Regions from separate parts of the Homo sapiens genome. Here all the other regions are linked to region 2. Evidence: promoter capture Hi-C in human tissues and cell types (Jung and others, 2019). All regions are on one chromosome and are shown on one strand. The core of a region is centred on a gene start or on the middle of the fragment in contact, and the rest is flanking DNA. Distances in the headings are between cores, read along the strand shown.

Evidence for each region. Contacts are between HindIII fragments. The study calls those that stand out against the background at their distance.
Region 1: a contact is called between a fragment that was not itself captured here and the fragment with the promoter of SP100 in region 2, in 1 of the 25 tissues and cell types used here (spleen).
Region 3: a contact is called between a fragment that was not itself captured here and the fragment with the promoter of SP100 in region 2, in 1 of the 25 tissues and cell types used here (mesenchymal stem cells).

The regions. Positions count from the first base shown.
Region 1 is chr2:230,803,387-230,807,234 of GRCh38, reverse strand. The region is part of intron 5 of CAB39 (calcium binding protein 39); the gene reads right to left. Among named protein-coding and RNA genes, the nearest start is that of ITM2C, 60 kb to the left of the region's middle. The HindIII fragment of the contact is 3,888 bases long and covers 284-3,848 here.
Region 2 is chr2:230,413,711-230,418,126 of GRCh38, reverse strand. It overlaps SP100 (SP100 nuclear antigen), which reads right to left and starts at 1,926. Exons shown (of 29, transcript NM_001080391.2): 1 at 1,799-1,926; 2 at 462-536. The coding sequence starts at 1,830. RefSeq lists an enhancer at 1,760-2,279. The HindIII fragment of the contact is 8,532 bases long and covers 1-4,416 here.
Region 3 is chr2:230,013,586-230,017,895 of GRCh38, reverse strand. No RefSeq gene overlaps it. Among named protein-coding and RNA genes, the nearest start is that of SLC16A14, 53 kb to the left of the region's middle. The HindIII fragment of the contact is 3,987 bases long and covers 183-4,169 here.

The DNA of each region.
Region 1 (3,848 bases), core at 978-3,477, 390 kb before region 2:
GGTGAGTGTGGGTGGGAGGGGGGTGTGTGTAGACCAACAGAATAGAACATAATGGGCAAAGGGCATGCAGACCTGCAAAGTTTAGGGTGCATGTGACCCCAGACCAGCAGAGTTGCTAGGTCAGTCAGCAGAGGGGAGAATAAAAGGATTCCTCATCTTCCATCTATCTGAATTCCAGTCTATGCCAGGCCCTCATATAATGGAAGAAAGACTAGGGATCATTTCCCAAGTCCAGCAGACTAAGCAGCCAACTTTTAGGGTAGGCTGAATTTAAAAGCTTCCTAAAAGCTTGAGTTTGGGCTGAAACATCATGTGACTAAGACAGCCCTGGGATCCCTGAAGAAATCCTGCTAACCCAGGGGGCTTATTTTCACATTCATCTTGGCAAACCATTTGGCCCCATTTCCTACTTGATGTTTGATTATGTCTAAGGACAAGAAACTCAATTTTTCCAGTTGTGTGGTTCACCTCTGGAGTTCTTACAGTGAGAAAGTTCTCCCTGTGCTAGGGTCAGACCTATCCCCAAATACTATGCCAGGAACCATCAGAGCTGACAGATCCATGTTTTGTCCATTTTCTATGGGACCCCACTTCAAATACAAGTAGTGCTCTCATGGCAGGTCCCTACCGAGGCTTCTCTTCTCCAGGCTAAATACTTCCAGTTCCTTTAACCACTCCTCGAATGACAGGGTTCTGAGTCCCCCTCACCATCTACTGTCTTCTGAAAGTCATCTATTTGTCTATGTGCCTCTTAAAGTGTAGCGCCTGGAATGGAACACATTTATGTGTTGTTACCTGATAAGCTCATAGTGGAGTGAGACTATCAGTTAGCTCCTTAGGTTACATACTACGTGGTCACATGGAGCTCTGGGGAACACATTATCATACTGCTTAATTGTATTGGGGGTATTCAAAATTGTTTACTCAAAGTGGGCTCTGGTAGCCTGCCTGCCTGGGTCCGCAGTCTGACTTCCCCATTTATTGTCTGATTTCAATCAAAATCTCTAGGCTTCACTTTCCTCATCTGTAAAGTCAGTAATAACAACACTGCCTTCCTAGGGTTGAGTATGATATGAAATTATCTACATCCTAGTAATTATTATACTTAGTATCTCATTTTGTATTTATTATTATTGTGTTATTCCTCCATCCCATATTTTATACAGCTGGGTCCTCAAGTGGAAGACCTCAGTTATCTGTATTTAACTTCATCCTGCTATATTCTGGTCTCTCTGACCTTTCTAAGTTTTAGGATCCTCTGTTATCTGCTGTCCTTCCCTTCCTGGCTAACATCTACACATTTGATAAGTATGCCTTGTCACCTTTTATTTCAGTCACTAATAAAAACGTTCAGCTGGGTGGGGAAAGCCCCGTGGAAATTCGCTAGAAGTTTCTCTGCAGGGTGACGGCAATTTACGTGCCAATAGCATATGGATATAACATACAACTGGTTGTGAATTACTATACTGAAACTCCATCTAGCTCAGTTTTACTGTTTCCATGAAAACAGATTTGTAGAATTATACAACATCTAGCATATCCTTGTTGTGATGAAGGAGTAATTCTAACAGCTAATGTTTACTGCATAGACACTGTGTGAAGGCACAACAACTGATATGGTCATGTTATTACCTGAATCTGAACAGATGAAGAGATTGGAGGTGAGATCAGCAGCAGAGCTGGTGTGAACCTAGGCAGCCATGCCCTTTTACTCCCCCAATCCACCAGTACCTATGAGATCAATATGACTGAACTTCCTCTTAGTGAATCCATGATGGCTGTGGGTACAGTTTCCAAACTGCTCAGAAGCCATTTTTTTTTGTATTTTTTTTTTAATTATACTTTAAGTTCTAGGGTACATGTACACAACATGCAGGTTTGTTACATATGTATACATGTGCCATGTTGGTTTGCTGCACCCATTAACCCATCATTTACATTAGGTATTTCTCTTAATGCTATCCCTCCCCCACCCCGCCACCCCATGACAGGCCCCGGTGTTTGATGTTCCCCGCCCTGTGTCCAAGGGTTCTCATCATTGTTCAATTCGCACCTATGAGTGAGAACATGCGGTGTTTGGTTTTCTGTCCTTGCAACAGTTTGCTCAGAATGATGGTTTCAAGCTTCATCCATGTCGCTACAAAGGACACGAATGCATCCTTTTTTAAGGCTGCATAGTATTCCATGGTGTATATGTGCCACATTTTCTCAATCCAGTCTGTCACTGATGGACATTTGGGTTGGTTCCAAGTCTTTGCTATTGTGAATAGTGCAACAGTAAATATACGTGTGCATGTGTCTTCATAGTAGTATGATTTGTAATCCTTTGGGGATATACCCAGTAATGGGATCACTGGGTCAAATGGTATTTCTATTTCTAGAGCCTTCAGGAATCGCCACACTGTCTTCCACAATGGTTGAACTAGTTTACACGCCCACCAACAGTGTAAAAGTGTCCCTATTTCTCCACATCCTCTCCAGCACCTGTTGTTTCCTGACTTTTTAATGATCGCCATTCTAACTGGTGTGAGATGGTATCTCATTGTGGTTTTGATTTGCATTTCTCTGATGACCAGAGATGATGAGCATTTTTTCATGTGTCTGTTGGCTGCATAAATGTCTTCTTTTGAAAAGTGTCTGTTCATATCATTTGCCCACTTTTTGATGGGGTTGTTTGATTTTTTTCTTGTAAATTTGTTTAAGTTCTTTGTAGATTCTGGATATTAGCCCTTTGTCAGATGGGTAGATTGCAAACATTTTCTCCCATTCTGTAGGGTGCCTGTTCACTCTGATGGTAGTTTCTTTTGCTGTGCAGAAGCTCTTTATTTAGATCCCATTTATCTATTTTGGCTTTTGTTGCCATTGCTTTTGGTATTTTAGTCATGAAGTCCTTGCCCATGCCTATGTCCTGAATGGTAGTGCCTAGGTTGTCTTCTAGGGTTTTTATGGTTTTAGGTCTAACATTTAAGTCTTTAATCCATCTTGAATTAAGTTTTGTATAAGGTGTAAGGAAGGTGTCCAGTTTCAGCTTTCTACACATGGCTAGCCAGTTTTCCCAGCACCATTTATTAAATAGGGAATCCTTTCCCCCATTTCTTGTTTTTGTCAGGTTTGTCAAAGATCAGATGGTTGTAGGTGTGCGGTGTTATTTCTGAGGCCTCTGTTCTGTTCCATTGGTCTATATCTCTGTTTTGGTACCAGTGCCATGCTGTTTTGGTTACTGTAGCCTTGTAGTAGAGTTTGAAGTCAGGTAGTGTGATGCCTCCAGCTTTGTTCTTTGTGCTTACGATTGTCTTGGCAATGCGGGCTCTTTTTTGGTTCCATATGAACTTTAAAGTAGATTTTTCCAATTCTGTGAAGAAAGTCAGTGGTAGCTTGATGGGAATGGCATTGAATCTATAAATTACCTTGGGCAGTATGGCCATTTTCATGATATTGATTCTTCCTATCCATGAGCATGGAATGTTCTTCCGTTTGTGTCCTCTTCTATTTCGTTGAGCAGTGGTTTGTAGTTCTCCTTGAAGAGGTCCTTCACATCCCTTGTAAGTTGCACTCCTAGGTATTTTATTCTCTTTGTAGCAATTGTGAATGGGAATTCAGTCATGATTTGGCTCTCTGTCTGTTATTGGTGTATAAGAATGCTTGTGATTTTTGCACCTTGATTTTGTATCCTGAGACTTTGCTGAAGTTGCTTATCAGCTTAAGGAGATTTTGGGCTGAGATGATGGGGTTTTCTAAATATACAATCATGTCATCTGCAAACAGGGACAATTTGACTTCCTCTTTTCCTAATTGAATACCCTTTATTTCCTTCTCTTGCCTGATTGCCCTGGCCAGAACTTCCAACA
Region 2 (4,416 bases), core at 677-3,176:
TTTAAAAATTTAAAAAATTTTCAGAGATATTAGAGGAGGAACTCTTCCTGGAATAGCGGTAGCAGCGAATCTGCCACCTTAACACAGAAATAATTGTAAAAACTAAGAGTGCTCACAGAGGGTGTCAGCATCACCTCGTTTATAACAAGGGTGCATCTATCTTAAAAAAATCTGTATCACAAGAGGCCTATATGTTAAGTTTTAAGCTTTAATAAGATAAAAGTCACCATAGACAAAGGTAATGGACAAGAAAAGTATATTTATACTTACAGAATATTTAGTGAATTCTCCCATATCACGAAAAAAAGGACAAACACCTCAACGGAATCATATTGGCAAAAAACAAACAAGCAATTTATAGAAGAGGGAATTTAAATGGCCAAGAAACATGAAAAGCTGATCAATTTTCCCATCGTAAGGAAAATACAAATTAAAACAAGACATAACTCTTCATTCATCACCTTTGCAAATCGTGGCTGTGTGCAGGAAGATGGTTCATCTCATTTGCTACTGGTGAAATACATTCATTCAGCCTCCTAGAAAGACAATTTGGCAGGACCAAGTAAATAACTGGACCCTTTGCCTCAATAATTACATTTTTAAGGTTTAGAGACAAGATAAATATTTGTTTAGATGTAAAAACCCAAAAAGAAATATATAATCATTGTTATGATAGCTTATTGGTAAATGTGAACAATTTAAAAACAATCTAAATGTCCTTCAATTGGAGAATAAATAATTATCATATATCAATTCTATGGAATAGCATGTATAAAAAGAATGAGGCAGATCTATATGTATTAAGGTTAAAAGATCTCTAAGTTTTCCACTATTAAAATAAGTAAAAATGCAAAATGCAGACTAGCACATGTAATATAATTTATTATAAATCAAGAACATAAATTACGTATTTACAAAAAATGCATTAGATATATAAATGCATAGAAAAATATAAGAAAAGCTGTGCCCAAGACTCTTCACAGGACTGGGAAGAGAAGCTACAAGAATGGCTGAGTGGCAAAGATGACTTTTTCCTTAATATACTTCTCCACTGTTTTAAATTTTATGAACAATAATGTACAGTGTATTTCTTTTGTATTAAAAAATTTAAAAGATTAAGTAATGTTATTTCTCAACTCACTACTAGAGAAAAGTTAGGATTTCCTTCTCTTTTCTGGTCAGAGGTATCCCCCATCTTGGGACAGGAAATTGAGGTAAAAATGAAAATATTTAGCCGTTTGTCACCCTGGGCCTTTTTCTTCCCTTTCCTTCTTTTGATCAAGGTTGATGGAATAAGAACTCAGACCCTGAGCCAGTCATGGGAACAGCCGGCAGAGGCCCCTTGCCAGGACAGGTGAGACCACAGCGTCTGATGTTTAAAAGTAAGCCAGGTGTTTACCCTGGAGTGTTTATTTTCTAAAGCACCTTTTTTGACATGACATATTTGAAGGTAGAGGAAGGCTGAGGGGTGAAAGGGTTCACAGATCATGAGGAAATAGTTAATCCCAGCCACCAACAACTGCTATGTTTAGAGTGTCCCGGTCAGCTGAGCAGTAAATCCAAAACAAGAAAGTCACGTGTGTTATGGCAAGTTGAACTCACACCAACAGCTGTCCTGCTCCTGTTTAAAAAATCTGATTTCCTCATTACTTGTCTTTCATTTCATTATATAACATCGCATACCTATGTTCTTGCAAAGAAGGATTAAAGTGAAGCCTTAGGCACAAACTGAACTAAAGGCATGAAAGCTGCAATATAGCCAGAGATAAAGGTTAAAGGAAGGGAGATAAAGACTCACCTGGTGCTCAGGTCGCCGCCCCCACCTGCCATCTTCCCACCCTAGGCCCTGCGTGGGCCTCAGAGCCTGGCCTCTGAGCCCCTCAGTCGGCCCAGCCTGCGTGCAGTGTGGCTGCCCAGGCCCCAAGCAGGAAGTCGGCCGACAGACTGACTCAGAAAGGGCTCCGCCCAAATGGGGAAAAGAGAAGTGAAAGTATTTAACCTCCTTCTGGGCTACGGACACTGTGTTTCTCCTCCTTTTTCACTCCAAGGGATTCTCAGCTTTTCTGAAATGTGGCAGAGGGTTGGAGGAGAGGCCTGACAAGCAGCAAGACCTGCAGGACCAGGGAAGGAGGGCCCAGGGGACGAGCAGGGCCAGCTCCCGGGTGTCCACTTGTTTGTGCAATACACAGCCAAAAAAAATGTCCTTGAAACAAAATTGTCCTTAGCTGCTCTGCCCTCTAAGAGGGGGCATAGTTTACATGGGAGTTGGGGGGGAAACTCCATGTTTGCCCCTTCCCCTTGCTGACATGGCTTGGGGTGGGAGTTGGAGGGTTGGAGGGAAAGCCAGAAACCTCAAATCTTCTCTCAGGCCCATGGGAGAGCATGGACTGGACTAAGGTAGGTCCTGACATTGGGACCCAGGGCTGGAGAGAACCAAAATGCTCAGCATTATAACCTGGGGAGAGTGTGCTTAGCCTTCCTGGAAATCAGCCAGAAGTAAGAGAGAACTCTCCACACCCCTGGGACCAGAGGCTGGAGCCAGCATGGTAAGAAAGGCAAACATTTTAAGGGGCAAGGGTTTAAGGAATCTTGACTATGGGGCCGCCTTGGAACAGCCAGGGGTGAAGAGACACCTAAGCTTCGGAGAAGTCACTGGAATCTTGAGAGAACAAAAGCTTCTCATTGGAGGAGGATGGAGGTTGGAACCCAGATGATCTAGACATGGAAGGGCAGGGTGGCTCCCGCGGGAGGTTCTATCTCTGCCCAGATTTTCCATTTAGATTCTGATTCATCATTCCTCAGAGAACAAGAAGCGACCGAGAAGACTCGCTTTACATCAGTATAAAGTCATAGGTAAAGAAACAGAAGCAAAGGGCGCATGAGAATGGGGCCACAGGACACAACCAGGGACCAGAACTCCAGGCCGGACCATGGGGCAGAGACAGGGAGGCAGCTGGGAGCCTGGGGGCGCTGGAATCCAGGGCCCAAGGTGAGCAGAGGGTGGAAGCTGGTGAGGATTCAGGGGCCAGAGGGGATGGCACTTCAGAACGGTGTTTTCCAAATGGCATTCTACTGAATCCAACTTCTTCCAGCTGTGAATAAGGATGCTTGTCCAGGTACATTTGAAAATGTGGGGGAAGGGGCTTTCTACCCTCACTCTACTTCTGCTCTTCTTTTCCCCATGAGTGAATGACCAGGCACCAGGACATTGGTGAGGACAGCTTTGCCGGTGGGCGAAGGTCACTGTTTCTATCAGGCACTGCACACCTGTAGGTCTCTCTCTCTTTCTCTCACCTGTAGGTCTCTCTCTCTTTCTCTCATTCTTCCTACCCCCCATGACTCCCCGACTTTATGGGGCTGAAGGGCTGGTAAGCTGAGCCTCTTTTGGGCACAGCTGTCCTTTGATCCCAGTCTCCATGAGGCACATTGGTCCCAAGAAGTCCTGGCATGGACCACACAGTATGCTTTGGTGTGGTTCACGTTCTCCCCTCTCGCTGCCTCTGGGCAGCAGGCAGGCTCAGGCCATTGAGTGGCACTGACATAAACGTGCCAGCTTTTCCCTGGATGTGCTTAGGGGCTACTAAGAGCAGCACCTGGAATTCCAGACCAATGAGCCACAGGCTGGCAGGGAATTCCTTACGGGTTGAACTTCACGGGCAGACATGCCCATGCTGGGGCACCTCCTGGCAGCAGGGAAGGAGATGTTCTCATCAGATGAGGTTGGAGACAGATGAGCATGCACCATGCTCCGCTGGTATATGGAGAATCTGTAGGCCTCTGTGAAGAAAGCAAAGTTTCTCTGATCCAGAAAACAATGTCAGACACACTGGGGTTGGGAAAGGGACGGGACCACATTAAGAAGACATGTGAGCTAAAAATCCTGCTGGACTGTTTAGAAGGAAATAATGGAACTCCTGGGGCATTTTCCATGGCTGCAAGGAGCACAGGCAATAGGGAATATTTCTGTTGTCAAGAAGTAGTTCCAGTTACTGGAGCCTGGAAAACTCAAAAGCAGGGGAGGCAGTGATTGAGGAAGGACCACAGGCAGGGCACCCAGCCAGATGATGGGCCTCTTACATTTCACCAAGAGCAGCTTCAGTTCAGACTTCAGTGGTGTGGGTGAGGCAGGAGAATAGGGTCTGGAGGCAGGGAACCTAAGGCCATTTCATGCTAACTTCCTAGAACTAAATTGAAAGGAAAACCCTAACTTTCCATGCCTAAGTAACAAAAGGTCCAGAGGCTACTCCCTTTGCAAACCCCCACCTTTTCTGTGGGGCAATGGGAAATGGAAAGTACCTGTGTATAGTTGTTTTTTGCATAGGAGTGTAACTTTGTAACTTTACTTCAGCCTCTGATGGGTTGCTGTCTGCAACCAATCAGACTGATTGCAGGCCAAGTCTTCCTTTGCATAGAAGT
Region 3 (4,310 bases), core at 927-3,426, 400 kb after region 2:
CTTCTTTGGAGAAATGTCTGTTTAGATCTTTTGCCCATTTATTAATAGGGTTATTTGTTTTTTTGTTATTGAGTTGTAAGAGTTCTTTATACATTTTGGATATTAACTCCTTATCAGATATGTGGTTTGCAAATATTGTTTTCTAGTCTGTAAGCTGCCTTTTCATTTTGTTGATTGTTTCCTTTGCTCTGCAAAGGTTTTTTAGTTTGGTATCATCCCATTTATTTATTTTTGCTTTCGTAGCCTGGTTTTTTGGTATGATATCCAAAAAATCATTGCCAAGGCCTATGTCAAGGACTGAGCCCAGGAGGAGGAGTTTTCGCCTAGAAGTTTTATGGTTTCAGGTCTTACATTTAGGTCTTTTATCCATTTTGAGTTGAGTTTTATGTATGGTGTAAGGTAAGGGTCAAATTTCATTCTTTTGCAGTGGCAATCTAGTTTTCCCAGCACCATTTATTGAAGACATTATCCTATCCCCATTTTGTCCTCTTGGTGCCCTTGTTGAGAATTAATTGATCCTATGTGTTTGGACTTATTTCTGGGCTTTCAATTTTGTTCCATTGGTCTATGTTTCCGTTTTTCTGCCAGTACTATAGTGTTTTGATTAGTATAGCTCTATAATATAATTTTAAATCAGGAAGTGTGAGGCCTCAAACATTTTCTCTCAGTATTGCTTTGGCTATTCTAAGTATTTTGTGGTTCTATATTAATTTCAGGATTTTTTTCTTTATTATTTTACTTAGAGACAAGACCTTGCTCTGTTGCCCAGGCTGGAGTGCAGTAGCATGATCATAGCTCACTGCAACCTTGAACTCTTAGGCTCAAACAATCCTCCTGCCTCAGCTCCATGGTATGTGGGACTGCAGGCATGCACCACCACACCCAGCTAATTTTTAACTTTTTTTTCTTTAAGAGACAGGGTCTTGTTATACTACCCAGGCTTTTTTTTTTTTTTTTTTCTATTTCTGTGAAGAATGTCCTTGGGAATTTTGATAGGCACTGTATTAAATCTGCATATTTCTTTAGGTAATACAGACATTTGAACAATATTAAATTTTCCCATCCATGAATATATGTATTTATTTGTGTCTTCTTTGATTTCTTTCATCAGTTTTATAGTTTTCAGTGTATCAATCCTTCATGTCCTTGACTAAATTTGTTCCCAGATATTTTAAGTTTGTTTTTTCTTTTTTTTTTTTTTTGACAGTCTTGCTCTGTCACCCAGGCTGGTGTGCAGTGGTACAATCTTGACTCACTGCAACCTCTGCCTCCTGGGTTCAAGCAATTCTCCTGCCTCAGCCTCCTGAGTAGCTGGGATTACAGGCGCCTGCCACCACACCCTGCAATTTTTTTGTATTTTTAGCAGAGATAGGGTTTCACCATGTTGGTCTTGAACTCCTGACCTCGGGTGATCCACCCACCTCGGCCTCCCAAAGTACTGGAATTACAGGCATGAGCCACCGCACCTGGCCAGATATTTTAGTTTGTGATGCTGTCGTAAATGTGACTGGTTTCTTGAATTCTTTTTCAGCTAGAAAAAGAATTGTGTATAGATATGCTACTGATTTTTTTGTATGTTGATTTTGTATCCTGCAACTTTACTGACTTCATTTATTAGTTACAGTTTTTTGTCAAATCTTTGGGGTTTTCTACCTATAGAATCATGTCATCTGCAAATAGAGATAATTTTACTTCTTCCTTTTCAACTTGGATGTTTTTCTTTCTTTTTCTTGTCTGATTGCTCTTGCTAGCAAGCACTTGCAGTACTATGTTGAATAGAAGTGGTGAATGTGAGCATCCCTGCCTTGTACTGGATCTTAGTGGAAAAAGTTTTCAGTTTTTCCTTGTTGGTTATGTTGTTAGCTGTGAGGTCTTTGTAAACTGCCTTTATTATGTTGAGGAACTTTCCTTCTATACATAGTTAAGTTTTCATTAAGAAAGGATACTGAACTTTGTCAAATGTTTGTCAATTAAGATAATTATGTATTTTCTCTTTCATTCTGTTAAGATAATGTATCACACTGATTGATTTGTGTATGTCAAACCTGCTTTGCATGCCAGAGATAAATCTCACTTTGTCTTGATGTACAATCTTTTTGTGTTGTTGAATTCAGTTTTCTAATATTTTATGAAGGATTTTCGCATCAATGCTCATCAGAGATGCTGGCCTGAAGTTTTCTTTTCTTGTCTTGTGTTTTTGTCTGGCTTTGGTATCAAGATGATGCTGGTCTCATAAAATATGTTTGGAAGTATTCCCTCTAGCTCTATTATTCGGAAGTCTTTAAGAAGTATTGGTGACAATTCTTCTTTGTATGTTTGTAGAAATCAACCACGAAAGCCATCTGGTCCTGAGATTTTCTTCACTGGAAGGTTTTTAATTGCTTCTTCAATCTCTTCACTTGTTATTCTGTTCAAGCTTTCTATTTCTCATCAATTCAATCTTGGTGGGTTATACTTTTCTAGGAACTTATCCATTTCTTCTAGGTTATACAATTTGTTGGCATATAATTATTCATAATAGTCCCTTATGATTCCTTTTATTTCTGAGGCATCTGTTGGAATGGCTCCACTTTCATCTCTGATTTTATTTGAGTCTTCTTTTTTCCTTAGTTTAGCTAGGGGTTTGCTGATTTTGTTTATTTTTTCGAAGAACTAACTCTTGGTTTTATTGAGTTTTTCCTATGGTTTTTCTGTTCTCTATTTGATTTTTTCTGTTCGAATCTTTATTTCCTTCCTTCTGCTAACTTTGGATTTAGTTTGTTCTTCTACTGGCTCCTTGAGATGTAATGTTAGGCTATTTATTTAGGGTATTTCTTTTTCCTTTTTTTTTTTTTTTGAAACAGTCTTACTCTGTTGCCCAGCCTGGAGTGCAGGGGTGTGATCACAGCTCACTAGAGCTTCGACCTCTGGGCTCAAGCGATCCTCTCACCTCAGCCTCCCAAGTAGCTGGGACCACAGGCCTGTGCCACCATGCTGGGCTGATCTTTTTATTTTTTGTAGAGACAGGGTCTCCTTATATTGCCCAGGCTGGTCTTGAACTCCTGGGCTCAAAGGATCCTCCCGTTTCAGCTTCCCAAAGTGCCATGATTAGAGGAATGAGCCACTGCACCTGGCCTGGGGTCTTTCTTCTTTTTTAATATAGGCATTTATTGCTATAAACTTCCCTCTTAGATTGCTTTTGATATTGTGTTTCCATTGTCATTTGTCTCAAGATATTTTTTATCACTTGATGTTTTTAACATGACATCAAAGACATCCATTTCAAGTTGAAACCAACTACTCACAATTGAAAAGCTTGGATACGCTCTCACAGTATATTAATACAAACTGAAGATAGAGGTCATTATACTAAAACTCAGAGCAAAAAACTGTGATGAACTTTTCTGTTTTTAGTAAGGTTGTTTTATATTATTCTTCGGTATTTCAGGAGTCAGTTTGGGGTAATAAATAAAGACTGATAACCATTATATACACAAGCAGCTCACAAAACAATGACAAGTGGTACCTGGTGCATTGTCCTTACCCCTGCTTGCAGTCCCTCCCCACATGATCACCTCAGCCTTAGTTCTGGGGCCTACTCAGTAGAAGAAAACATTTTAGGCCGGGCACGGTGGCTCATGCCTGTAATCCCAGCACTTTGGGAGGCCAAGGTGGGTGGATGACGAGGTAAGGAGTTTGAGACCAGCCTGGCCAACATGGTGAAACTCTGTCTCTATTAAAAATACAAAAATTAGCCCGGTATGGTGGCACATGTCTGTAATCCCAGCTACTTGGGAGGCTGAGGCAGGAGAATTGCTTGAACCCAGGAGGCAGAGATTGCAGTGAGCCGAGATTGTACCATTGCACTCCAGCCTGGGCGACAGCAGCAAGATTCTGTCTCAAAAAAAAAAAAGAATGAAAAAATTTTGGATTCTATATTGCTGAGGCTTAATGCATACATATGCCAACCTGTTTGGGAAAAAAGTAGTAGTAGAACTTGACATTAAGTAAAATATGTTTATTATTTAGTTATAAATTAAAAATATGTATTTTCTATTGTTAATAGATTGTTCTTATACCACTAAATATATAAACCATTGGAAATTTTCAGTATTGTATAATTACAATGGTAAATGAGAACAGAGTAGAAACACAGTTGATTGAAAAGATGAAAAAGGACAAGATTATAAAATGCTGTAAGGCTGGGCAGCGTGGCTCACACCTGTAATTCCAGCACTTTGGGAGGCTGAGGCGGGCAGGTCACGTGAGGTCAAGAGTTCGAGACCAGCCTGGCCAACATGGTGAAACCCTGTTTTTACTAAAAATACAAA